Regions from separate parts of the Homo sapiens genome. Here all the other regions are linked to region 1. The links are contacts of gene promoters, found by promoter capture Hi-C in blood cells and fetal thymus (Javierre and others, 2016). All regions are on one chromosome and are shown on one strand. Each heading gives the region's core, a stretch centred on a gene start or on the middle of the fragment in contact. The rest is flanking DNA. Distances are from core to core; before and after follow the strand shown.

The links. The method cuts DNA at HindIII sites, captures the fragments that hold promoters and counts their contacts. A CHiCAGO score of 5 or more calls a contact.
Region 2: a contact is called between a fragment that was not itself captured here and the fragment with the promoter of FBXO15 in region 1, in 1 of 17 cell types (endothelial precursors). The highest score is 6.2, in endothelial precursors.
Region 3: a contact is called between a fragment that was not itself captured here and the fragment with the promoter of FBXO15 in region 1, in 1 of 17 cell types (endothelial precursors). The highest score is 10.7, in endothelial precursors.

What each region holds. Positions count from the first base shown.
Region 1 is chr18:74,145,063-74,149,607 of GRCh38, forward strand. FBXO15 (F-box protein 15) reads right to left here and starts at 2,772. Exons shown (of 10, transcript NM_001142958.2): 1 at 2,608-2,772. The coding sequence starts at 2,723. TIMM21 (translocase of inner mitochondrial membrane 21) reads left to right here and starts at 3,461. Exons shown (of 6, transcript NM_014177.3): 1 at 3,461-4,047. The coding sequence starts at 3,747. RefSeq lists a silencer at 2,502-2,651 and enhancers at 3,342-3,461, 3,492-3,541, 3,622-3,711. The HindIII fragment of the contact is 3,433 bases long and covers 260-3,692 here.
Region 2 is chr18:72,741,090-72,745,634 of GRCh38, forward strand. It overlaps NETO1 (neuropilin and tolloid like 1), which reads right to left. Exons shown (of 11, transcript NM_138966.5): 11 at 2,667-4,545. Among named protein-coding and RNA genes, the nearest start is that of MIR548AV, 110 kb to the right of the region's middle. The HindIII fragment of the contact is 2,254 bases long and covers 1,616-3,869 here.
Region 3 is chr18:72,763,578-72,768,122 of GRCh38, forward strand. All of the region lies in intron 7 of NETO1 (neuropilin and tolloid like 1), which reads right to left. Among named protein-coding and RNA genes, the nearest start is that of MIR548AV, 88 kb to the right of the region's middle. The HindIII fragment of the contact is 2,879 bases long and covers 733-3,611 here.

The sequences.
Region 1 (4,545 bases), core at 1,522-4,021:
TGTTTGGTACTAGTTATTTTTTTTAAGTACCAAATGCTTTTCCCTAATCTGAAACCCTAATTCAGTAACGAATGGATATGCCTCTATCTTTGGCTAAAACATTTAACAGGGCTTAGTTAGTTCAATTCTACAAATACTTCTTAATCATATACTCTGCACAAGGTAATGTGTAAGTGCTTTAAGACATTTCATCCTTTATTTAATTGGAATATGAAGGCTATTTTATTACAAACATGTTTTCACACTTTTAAAACGTCAAAGCTTATTTCTTGCTGTTTTGTTTTTTCACAATTAAAATGGATCTCATAGAGTCCCTCATTTCAGTTTACAAGGCTAAGGCTCTAACAAGGCAACTAAAGAAACTTAAGGTCCCAAGCTAGAAGCAAAGACAGTCTCTGAGACGCCCATCTCCTTAATGTCCTGTCAGAGCTCTCTGTACCATGTCTTACATGAGACCATACATCTTATCAGTGTACCTTTTAACACTATTGGAAACACATTTCTATTTATCCATAAAATAAACCAACTGCACTTTTTTTTTTTTTTTTTTTTTGCGACAGAGTCTGGCTCTGTCGCCCAGGCTGGAGTGCAGTGGCGCTATCTCGGCTCACTGCAAGCTCCGCCTCCTGGGTTCACGCCATTCTCCTGCCTCAGCCTCCTGAGTACCTGAGCCTACAGGCGCCCGCCACCATGCCGGGCTAATTTTTTTGTATTTTTAGTAGAGACGGGGTTTCACAGTGTTAGCCAGGATGGTCTCGATCTCCTCACCTCCAGATCTGCCCGCCTCCGCCTCCCAAAGTGCTGGGATCACAGGCGTGAGCCACTGCACCCGGCCCCAATTGCACATTTTTAAGGTCCACATAATTAACAAATCAGCAAGTTCTATTTATGTTTTTATGCGAATCTATACGTCTACAAGGTTAAGTGTAGACATACACTGATACATTTAGCAAGATAAATTTAGTTTGAAAACACTTTTTTTCAAGTGACAGGTTTTTGTCTGATAGCTTTCAATAAGTCCAATATTTTAAAAACCTAATGACTGTGCTTCATTTTAAATATCTGGCAAATCAAATAAATTACAGCAGGTACAAATTAAGCCAACTTAATACGCTTTCTGCTACACTTCTTACAGTTTGTGATATTTATACATATTCACATTTTGTGTTAAAAGGGAACACTGATTCCTTAACAACATCTAATTTTCCACAGCGATATATTAAAATAACCACCTGCTTTGACCATAGTCAATCATTCTATTTTTAGCAGCGGACTTTTCTTTACCAAAAATAATGCATACATTTCCAAATCAGCTTGAAATGCAGGTTCCCATGCCAGGCATAATGACAGGCCCTCTAATTATATCAATCCAGGAAGTTCACTCAACTTACAAAGGATAAAAGATTCATCATATAAAAATCATTCTGCTTCCCCCTAATAGAGCACTATGTAAAGACTAATTTTAGTAATAGCAGCAAATTGATTAAAAGTTCAAGTTTCCTATTTAAATTCCTGCTTTTTCTCCTACATAAAAGAATTTTTGCAGGCATTGTCACCATTCTATTTGTGACAAGGCTTGTGGTATGTCTAGCATTATAGGTATTCAATTAAGAACTATTATCACAGCACTAAGCAACAGGGCTGGGCTTCTGAAAACAGGTAAGTGGAAGTAATGGAGACCTAGAGAGGACACAGGACATAGTTCTGGAGATTCAGGGGGAAAAAACAAGTAGTTCAACTAGTATGTAATAGACTCCCTTTGTGTGCTTAAACATAGACCATTGGTTTATTAGAAGGCAAAATATGCATGACTTTCCCTATTTATAAATCAAGGAGTCTTACAAGCAGAAAGATAATCCTCAAGAATGTAAACCATTCTTGGCATTATCCCTCCATCTGTAAACTAACTGCAGTGATGGGTACACAGCTAGGGAACAGCTCACGATATAATGAGAGGGATTTCATAAGGTACCATTATGCATGCTGATACTTCTGATGCACTGGCTCATTTTACTTCTTCACGCTGAAGATGCTTCTGGAAAGCAGATGAGCAAGACCTGGCAATGTAGATGGCAACTTAGCCTTGACGTTGGAGGTGCAGAAAGTGCTGCCCCCCACCCGCCAGACCAACCTGCCTGCCCGAGGTATCTGCTTGGGGGATGAGGGTGTCAACTGATAAGGTTTTGATGAACAGACTCTACTTCCCTAAGTTGTAAGGTCATGAAAAACACGAAGGGAGATTCTTGGTTACAGAAGAGCGAAAATACGAAGGCAGGGGCGGAGCACACGTGAATTTAGGGCACGCATCCCGGAGAAACGACCTCTTGGACCTGCACCTGTCCTGGCAGGTGCGCGCATCCCCGGCCACAGGCGCCGCAAGAAAAAATATTTCCCCGAGAGGCTACTCTATTTGTGTCATAACTTAGGGTACCCCACGTTGCAGGGTAGAAAGGATTTCCTCCGGTCGTTCTTCCATACCCTTCTCACGTTGAAGACGGCCACGGGCCTTGCGCCAAGCTGGACGAATAAAATACACGGTGAAGAGAGCGGGGCCGCGCAGTGACGGGCTTCCCGCCAGGGGACCCCACCCGCAGGCCCTACAGTCACCTGCACCCAAAGGCCCTGGCGCGCCCCCGGGCCGCGCCACCGCCCCTGCTGGGCCCGCGCAGCGTCTGGAGGCCGAGCCAGTGCTGCTGCAAGATCCGACCGCGTCCAGTCGCCATAGAGACAAGGAGTTCACCACAGGACCGCGCCAGGGCTGAAACGAAGAGTGCACGCACCGCCCCCACGCCCGCACGTCGCCACACCCCTTATGCGCATGCGCGCGTGAGCAAAAGTAACGGTATGCCCACCCTTGCGCAGACGGCACCGCGCCAGACACCCGCTCACAGAGCGGGCTTCTAGAAACTTCCGGGCCTCGGCTTCCTTACCCACCCCTAACATTCTGCCGCCTAGGGCGCCAAGCCAAGTTCGCGGCTTAACCATTTAGGAAACCGGTGCCTGCTTTGCAGCGGCCTCGTTCATCCCCACTTGCTGACTCTTTATTGTCCAGTTTTTCTGAAAACACAGTAAAACGCAAAAACTAAATCATTTGCCCACGCGGAATTGGCAAGACCACAGTCCAAGGGGGTATTTCCCACTGTGCACAGTCCTCTCTATAAGGATCAGGAAAACACGTAGATTGTAACTGCTAATTTGGCTTTTGCAAGTCCCGCCTGAACCACGTAGGGTGGGTGGTACCAATTCCCCCACCAACACCCCACTTTCCGCCGCTCCAGGGACGCGCAGCGTCTGCGCCGACGCTGGGCGCGGAGGCGTCTGGGGGCGCGGGAAGGACCTGCGCCGTGCTCTGGCCGCCTTGAATTGTGGGAGATGTAGTCTCTTTTGCGCGCCTCTTTGCCGTATCCCAGTTAAGAGCGAGGTTTTCAAACTACTATTCCCAGGAAGACGGGGGTTTCCCAGGTGACTTTGCGAAGGCATGGCGGGGACACTGTGAATGTCAGCCCAGAAGGTGATCAGAGCCTGTTAATTAAAATGGAAAGAAGACAGAAGGGAAGGTAGACATCAGGTTCTCCCTGGAGACTTTTCGTTTTCATTTACGCTGCGGAAACTGACGTTTTTGCCTAACACCCCATGTAATGTAAACGTATAGGCTTGAGTACGTGTCCGGCCGCATGTGTAGTGAACCCTAAAGCTTTCCTAATTGTAGTTAGCATCGTCCCTAAGCGGAACGATTTTCCGTGAACATGATTTGTACTTTTCTACGAGCCGTACAGTATACGGAGAAGCTGCACAGGTCCTCGGCAAAGCGATTGCTTTTGCCATACATCGTGCTTAACAAAGCGTGCTTGAAGACTGAGCCCAGTTTGAGATGTGGGCTTCAATATCAAAAGAAAACGCTGCGACCTAGATGTATTCTTGGAGTCACCCAGAAAACCATCTGGACGCAGGGACCGAGCCCCCGAAAAGCAAAGGAGGATGGCAGCAAACAAGTGTCTGTGCACAGGAGTCAGAGAGGGGGAACCGCCGTCCCAACATCACAAAAAGGTAAAAAGGAGTACTTTAATGATTGGGCTTTCAACAGACATGACAAGAGCTGCCAATGCCCTTTTATACCAAGTTCACTGCTAAAGGTGAAAAAGCAATTCACATGAATTTTTAAAAACCGTTTAAACATAATTTAGAACTAGAACATATAGATCTACAGTTTTCTTCACAGATTGGAACTCAGATGTGAAAGTTGATCTTGAATTTGATATAACTTTTTTTCATTATGTTTGGGAAATTTTTCTCAAGTTATATTGGCTCTGTTACATATAATAAAGAGTAATTGGATAGGATAAAAAGAGAGAGAGAGAGATTATTGACTCATAACTGGTAGGGAAAACTTTCACATGTTACCTGCAGTAATAGAAAAACATAAAATAGGGAGGATGGAATGTAAGTTGTCAGGGAAAGTCAGAGATGTATTCACAGATATTTTAAGATTTTTTTTTAATGTCTTCATTTCGCATGTGATTTGTAGGAAAAAAAAAGACAAAGCAA
Region 2 (4,545 bases), core at 1,493-3,992, 1.4 Mb before region 1:
TGGAGAGCAAACTGCTAGAACACCAGTGTAGGGGCCATGGCCTACACTGTGGTCCCACTGATGTCATATTGCCTGTGTGTGCATATCAGTTTTTTTTTTTTTTTTTTTTTTTTTTTGAAGCGGAGTCTCACTCTGTGGCCCAGGCTGGAGTGCAATGGTGCGATCTCAGCTCACTGCAACCTCAGCCTCCTGGGTTCAAGCGATTCTTCTGCCTCAGCCTCCCGAGTAGCTGGGATTACAGGCACCCACCACCATGCCTGGCTAATTTTGTGTGTGTGCATTTTTAGTAGCGATGGGGTTTCACCATGTTGGCCAGGCTGGTCTCGAACTCCTGACCTCAGATGATCCACCAGCCTCGGCCTCCCAAAGTGCTGAGATTACAAGTGTGAGCCACCATGTCTGGCCGAGTTCTAATGTTAACAGAAACCTTCTTCACTAGGTGTAGCCTCAATTTTACAAATAAAGAAGGTGAGGGCCACATTGGCTCATGCCTGTAATTCTGACATTTTGGGAGGCTGAGGTGGGTAGATCACTTGAGGCTAGGAGTTGGGCAACATGGCAAAATGCCATCTCTACTAAAAATACAAAAATTAGCCAGGGGTGATGGTGCAGACTTGTAATCCCAGCTACTCAGGAGGCTGAGGCATGAAAATCGCTAGAGCCTAGGAGGCAGACGTTGCAGTGAGCTGAGATAGCCCCACTGTACTGCAGCCTGGGCGTCAGAGTGAGACTGTCTCAAAAAAGAAAAAGAAAAAGAGAAAAAGAAAGAAAAGAAAAGAAAGGAAAAGAGAAAGAAAGAAAAAGAGAGAAAGAAAGAAAAGAAAGAAAGAGAAAGTAAAGGTGAAACTCAGAGGATTCAAACAGATTTTTAAAGAGCACATAAATAGTAAGAAATAAAACTAAATTTGATTTTCACTGCAGTACACCACTTTTATATATTGTAATGTTGCTTATGAAACTGCATTTACCAACACAGCTGTCTACTTCCTTGCTTATCTACCAGGATGCTATTACGTGAATTTATGCCAAACAATTATCTGTGACTGAAATACAAGATTTGCTTTCCAGTGTTGCTATTTCTGTGTATACTTCATGATGAGTGCTTTGGGGGTTACTCAGGAGCTCTGGCATTCAATGTTGAATGACAGATGATGAACAACAGCACTTTGACATGATGATGCAACAAAACAGCACTGGAAGAAATATCATCCAGACACAGAGTCATTGGATTTGGAAAGTCATATATTTTATGGTGGACAAGTTCTGAGGGGGGTTACTCTACATTGTTACTCTTTATAGATGATACTTTTGTTCCATGTCGATCATAAAATGAAGTCTACACATGATTTAGGAAAAATGATTTATTTTTATAATGCATTATAGGATATAAAAAATATCTTCCAATGAATGGTCATTTGAACCTCACACGCTGTAAGGTGGAGAGAAGGTGTTATAATACATACTTTTACAGATGAGGAAACACAAAACTACGGGGTTAATATGAATAAGTATCAACTTCTTTCAGCAGTACGTACTATGTTGAATATTAACGTGGTTATATTACACATTGGTGAAGAGTGTTGGTTGATCTTGTGGTTGGTGAGGTTGGCTTCAAAGCTTGATTCATCATTGTTTATTGTGTAATCTTAAAAAAGTTACTAAAACTCTTCAGTTTCCTCATCTGTACAATAAATAACAACAAATATTATTAATTAGTCATAGAATTGCTAAGATGACCAAGGAAAAAAATTACATGTAAAACACTCAAAATGGTGTTTGGCATGTGACCCTCAGTATGTTCGCTAGTCAACCATCACCTTGAAACAATAAAGTATAGTAGAAGTAAAAAAGCCAGACAAATATTCCTGGACATCTAACAATCTGCCCGTTACTCTTTCTCATGTCTTGTTTCTACACTGTTTTGATTCTACTGTATTTCACTCCCATTCAATTTAGCAAACATACCTGTCAGAGGCTTCTACTGAAAGTAGAAATCTTAAGTTCCATTCTGCTGAGATCTTAAAATATTCTCCCTTGAATAAAGTGTAAATTCCTTTGGATAGTATTCCATGCACTCAGAAATCATGATGTAAACTCAAACCTACTCTGTCAAATATACTTAGTATGTCTCCTGTCTATGTTCCAACCAGCTCAATTAGATGATCTTCTGAGCCTACATCTGCTTTAATTACTCTAGGTGGAAATTTCTCCCTGCACTACTATTTGACCATTGTCTCCATTCTTCAAGACCTGCTTAGAAGGTCAGTTATTCACAAAGCCTCTCTTGATCTTAAGAAGATACCTATATTCTCAGGTTTCTGCTACAAACTTCTTCATTATAAAGCATCATGTCTATTGAATTAACATTTGAATTTATTTTTATCTTCCATGGAAGATGATGAAGGAGGTAACCAGGGCTTTGCAATCAGCTTTGCATGATGGCCAACACAGCACATAATGTTGGGCTTAATTTTCCTTATACAGCTCCTGTAAGCAGTCTGCCTTCTACAGGGCTCTGTAATTGTGTTCCTTCCTAGACTGCCTTCTTCATTTTACCCTCAAAGTACTTAGGAAGGAGCTTGGTAGACAGACTGTGCAAGCTCAAAACAGCCTAGCTATATTGATATCACACTTAATGGAAAAGTGAATAAAGAGTACAAATTTGATAATGTGATATAAAAAGAATGTTTTATTTTAAATAATTTATACATTGTTTTCTGGTCATTTTTAAGTTTTGTGTCAGTATCTGTGACTATTAAGAGAGGGCACAAAAACAATTTTTCAAAGAGCAAACCACTATAAAATAGCATGCCTCAGAGGTTGGAAAGATGGCAGAAGTTGGGGACAAAAAAGAACATGTTGGCTGCACAGTACTTACAGATATAAAGGAGTAGTTTAACTACATGATCATACTGTTTCAGGAATAAGGAGATTCTGGAAACCAACCCAAGTAAATACACAAGTCCAAAGCAGGTTGAGTTTATTTTTCCTACCTCTGAGGAACTAGAGGCATTTTAAGAGAGCATTTACCTCTTTAATAATACACAAGAAAGTACAGAATCAGAGGCTACAAGAAAATGATGAGTTGATATGAGTGTCTGACATCAGTCACCCTAATTGTTATTTTTATTACCCTGTTTTATTTATTTTGATGATACAATTCAGTTAAATTTGTGGTACAATTCAAACAAGTTTATTAATAAAATGAATCATAATTGTAAATTAACAAAGGGCCTCAGATTTATTTAGCAGGATTATTTATAAAAACATTTCTGGCTATTTTAACAGTGTACTTTTATTTTTCTACCTTATTACACCTTTAAGATGGGCTTGGGAAATATTAATTAAGTGCATAGAGATTGATAATTAACTCAAGACCTGTTTATTTTGTTGTTGAATCTATTTTACAATTTCTTGGCTGGGTCCTTTACGCTAGAGTGCAATAGATAGAAATGAATCCATGGAGGGAAAAGGGCACAGAGAAAAATGGCACCGAAGCTAGCTCGCCTCAGTGCAATTAGACAAAACCCTAACTCACTTTTCAAAGCATATTTATTTAGAATTCAAAGAATTTTAAAAATGTTGTTTATTTAACTTCCCTTCAGAGAGGGAATCTGACATGACTCATTTTCATCAGAGATACACAAACTTCATAAGATGCTATTATTTATTTCACTGACAAAACATCAGTAAATTAATTGCCGCCACTTTAATCAAGGTAATAGGAACCAGGGGGTCATATCTTGTAATTTATTATGATATTCTGAGGTTGAGGAAAACCCATTCATGGAATTTTTTTAAAGCTGTAAAATTTGAGGAAGACCCGAATTAAATTCCTAAGGGAAAAATACAGAAAAAAATGATACAGAAGCTTAAGTGAATATTAAAGTAATGCCAACCGTCTAAGTTACTTAACACTGAGGATCATAACTTATGGAGTCATCAGACTCACGGAAATACTTCTAGAGCAAAAGTAAATGTGAAACAGAAAAACCAGCAACACCACAATGTGATTTGTTCTCCATTAAAAGCCCAAAGACACTGATCTCCAATTATGTGGACAGCCACATTTTGGTTACAAAATCAAATTCAAGTTAATTATGGCAAATCAAACACCACCTATGTCTACTTTGCAAGATAATGCTTAAAATTGGTATGTATATAAAAACATACAAAATAAATCAGATTTCCAAATTAGAACCTTGAAATTAGGCAACTACAATACATTTGGACAGAAGTACGAAGCTTAATATGGGGATTCATTGGCATTGCATGTGATTATATGCTACCATTATTTTGAAAAGTGAATGAAAACTTGAAAAAATAAAATGAAAAAGAATAGCTTTATGAAATTAACACAGCAGGCTAACTTAATGCATTATTTGAAATCATCTTGTTAAATCAATAAAGCACTTGGGTTGGTAATATTTGAATTCACTTTATCAAAAAATATAATCATTTATTAAAATAACATGTCTTATAAGTCTTGAGACATCTCATTCCTTATCTATGTGTGTCACCACCTTTAGAATGTGGGCCAAAGGC
Region 3 (4,545 bases), core at 922-3,421, 1.4 Mb before region 1:
ATACACCACACACACACTCACAAACACACACACCATTCACACACACACTCACACATTCAAACACAGTCATACACACACCACACAGCCACAGTCACACCTCTAGGTCTCCTACTTCTGCTCTTTATTAATTCTTCATCATTCCCTGATCTTTAATTTGAATGGAAATGCTCACAAACACGTATGGAAAAGCAGCTGGGGGAGGAAACAGCTTGGAGTATGTATTAGTCCGTTGTCAGGCTGCTGTGAAGAAATACCCAAGACTAGCTAATTTATAAAGAAAAGAGGTTTAATTGACTCACAGTTCCACATGACTAGGGAGACCTCAGGAAACTTACAGTGTCTTCATGTTGGAAGGCAAAACAGGCACTTCTTACATGGTGGCAGGAGAGAGAAGTGACAATCAGCGAAGGGGGAAACCCCTTATAAAACCATCAGTTCTCATGAGAACTCACTATCATGAGAACAGCATGGGAGGAAACTGTCTCTATGATTCAATTATTTCCACCTGGTCCAGCCCTTGACACGTGGGGATTGTTAAAATTCAAGGTGAAATTTGGGTGGCGACACAGAGCCAAACCATATCAGAGTACATTTACATCTTCTTGCTTTATTTCTTGGGTTCAACTTTTATCAGCCTTGAATATTTACTAAAGCTTACTTTTTTAAATTAAAACTTCTAACCCTTGGGATGGTCTAGAATCTATTACTCTGTTTGGTGAGGGATGGAAGCAAAGCTTAACACTTACATGAATATGTAAATATGACACATATCAACATTCTATAGTTAGGTCATGAATTCACATTGAAGAGCAAAATCTAGCATACTTACTTTTATTTATTACTAATGTTTATCAGTTCAGGTAACTAAGGTGATTTTCCCCCTGCCTTCTCAGGCCGCTATGCTAGTGTCTTACAGACCCCTGTAGCTGAGCCCCCTGAGGCTGTCACAGGTCCCTTATTTCCTCTGTCCTCTCTCTCGGCAATTTTCATCAGACACAGAGCCCCCACTAACGAGGGGGCTTACATCCCCAGCTCTGACTACTGTGTGAGATCCAGACTTACCCTGAATATTGAAATTCCTACTTAACGTCTCCATTTGGAACTGTAATTACCATCGCAAACAGAATATGGCTGATGGGCCTAAGCAAAATGATTATCACCCTCTTCCTCTTATCCACATTTTCCTTTTTAATTCTCACCTCCCACACCTTCCTGGCATTAACAAAGGGCACAACCATCCCCTCAGGTGTTCAGGCGAAAGGCTCAAGACCATCCTTGGGTCCTTTCTTCCCCGGATACCGTTGAGCCAGTGGCCATCTCTTGCATGGCTCTATCTCAATACAAAGCTCTTGTTGAGGTCTCCACTGCTGTGAATGAGCCAGGCCACCATTCACTGACAGCAATCTTACATGGAGTTCAGGGACACAGAAACCATGGGGACCTTGGCCATCTGAAAGTATAAATCAGGCCACATTTCACTTTGTTGAAGACACCCCAAAACACTTTCCAATAATGTTAGGTTAATTTCCAAACTCCTTGTACCCCTTAGTACACAGCAAGTGATTTATATTCTCACAGCCTCTGCTCACCCTAAACATTTATAGAATTCTTCCTAACCTCAGATGTCACCCACCATAACCACCAGGTCATCCTGCCCTCATCCTTCCCACCACATCACCCATGTTGGTTTTCCCACAATACATACTAGGGCTTGGGCTGATCCCTTTGAGTTAACTTATCTGTGCCTTGTTGCTTCCTCTTAAAAAGTCTGGCAACCAGATGTACCACTTTGTAGATGCTTCATAAATACTTGGTGACAGACTATATATCACAATAAAAATTCTTTTTTTTTTTAATTGGAGATGAAGTCTCACTCTGTTGTCCAGGCTGGAGTGAAGTGGCATGATCTCAGCTCACTGCAACTTCTGCTGCCCAGGTTCAAGCAATTCTCGTGTCTCAGCCTCCCGAGTAGCTGGGATTACAGGCACCTGTCACTGTGCCTGGCTAATTTTTGTATTTTCCGTAGAGATGGGGTTTCATCATCTTGGCCAGGATGGTCTTGAACTTCTGGCCTCATGATCCACCCACCTTGGCCTCCCAAAGTGCTGAGGTTACAGGCGTGAGCCACAGTGCCAGGCCAGAATAAAAATTATTTAAGCAACACAATGAATATTAAATGCCATCTTCTCATTAATGTCTGACAATGATCTTAAATTTTTAAATAACAGCAAAACTTTAAAAAATAAACTTGAAAGAAAATAAAACATTAGAGATATCAATTATGAGTAATCAACTGAAGATGCAAATTTTTAAAAACTTCAAAAATGTCATTAAAAATACATAGCTTGGCTGGGCACAGTGGCTAACATCTGTAATATCAGCACTTCGGGAGGCCGAGGTGGGTGGGTCATTTGAGGTCAGGAGTTCAAGACCAGCTCGGTCAACATGGTGAGAACTCATCTCTACTAAAAATACAAAAAGTAGACTGGTGTGGTGGTGCATGTCTGTAATCCCTCTACTCAGGAGGCTGAGCGGGGAGAATCGTTTGAACCCAGGAGGTGGAGGTTGCAGTGAGTCGAGATTGTGCCACTGCCCTTCAGCCTGGGTGACAGAGTGAGACTCAGTCTCAGAAAAAAAAAAATATGTGTGTGTGTGTGTGTGTGTGTGTGTGTGTGTGTGTAGCTTGCTACTATCATTTTTAATTGTGGTACTCTACACAAACAAAAATATAAAAAATATATAAAATATATTTGGCCATCAGAACTTCCCACAAAACAATTTTTTTCCAAAACAAATGGAAAAATTTCCCTTGTCAGCACATTGAAACTTAAAATGGCCCATAGGCTATGTAATTAGAGGAAATGACATTTTATTTGAAAAATGGTGACCAGACTTGAGGCCAGAAATAGATTTGTGTATCTTTTTTTCATGTCCTTTATCACCTTCATAGTTGTTTTGAAAAATCAATATGTTTTCAAAACTCTGTTCCAATATGACTTTTACTTTGAAAATATCCAGTATTATCAAGATGTACATATATTAATCTGTTTTTATACAAGAAATTCTGTTCACAAATTTCAATTTGATCTCACACATATTTATGAGATTCCTCCCCAATCTTTGTGCAAAAATTACATATTCTTACTGTTCTGAGAGATATTACATTAAGAAACACATCTTCATTGGAAACTTACATTCCATATATAAAAAATCTTTCCTTGTATGTGGGGTGAATTTATCCGTTATTATCATAATGTATCCATTATTTTATCTTCCCTAGAAATTACTACATACTTTTATACTTCCATTATGTCTGCCTTGATTCAGCCCCACAATGATCTCTTCAATGTGTGTAGTTAGACATTACAATTACAATAAGGAGGGTATTAAATATCTTTGGCATCTGCATGCTGATTACTATTAGGCCCTGGACATGTGGGCCAGTGTTGGTTTTCATAATATGTACATGTCAGTAGCAGGTGGCTAGTTTAGACACATTATTCTTTTATAAAGGTGCAATACTTGCTCTCATTGAACATGCCAAGTCCCACAAAGGGGGCCTGCAGTAAATGAAGATTAGAGCCAAGCGTAAACACATCACCATGACCTCAAGCTTAAAAATCTGCTAGTTCAGAGGCTATCAATTAAAAATAATAATTTTCTGTTTCCATATAACAAACATATGCTGTGTATTTTCAGGGGCAGACATAAACCACAATGGTTGTAAAGCTAGAATCAGACACATTAATATGTATTATTCCCAATGATTCTACTAAAAATTACAGGAAATTTCCTGCCTTTATTCTTGTCCAAGTGATTCCTTGCAGACCCACACACTTTATTTAAAAAAATTATTCTAAATGGTTCGATGGAAAGTTCTGCAATATTTTCTCAGTAACTCAATGAATAGGCAAAGAAGCAAAATTACTTAAGATACTTGTTTTGGTCAAATTACTTAAGAAAATTAACTTTAAATTTTAAGTATTTCATCAAACTACATGTCTGTACACATAATACTTCTTCAATGGTTTAAGTAACCATATCAGTAATAAAAGTCCATCGATAATTCATTTCAAATATTAGAATACTTTTGACAGTTGTTTTCTTTATGGTGCCATCAAACTCAATCAAAAGCTTTAAAAAAAACAGGAAGGAAGGGAGGTAAGAGGAAGGAAGGAAGGAAGGAAAGAAATGAGGGAGGAAAGGAGGGTTGGTTGGCTTCTGGTAGATTATACAATTTTATTTCATTTTCCTTTGCTCAATAGCCTCACTGTATTTGAAAGTGTTAACTACCCAAGTTTCAGTATGTTGTTATCTCACTAACGGATACAATACTAGCCACCTTCTGCTGACCATTTGCTACGTTCCAGACATACATTTAAAACTTTCAGTTGCCCTGTGATGTTTTCTCTGTTTTACAGAAAGGAAATTGAAGATTAAAGTCCAGGCATCACACGTAAGAAAGTGGAAGAACTGGCTGACACTGAACATGTGCTCTTACACATTGTAATTCCATTTCAGATCTTTTTCAAAAGCAAAACAATT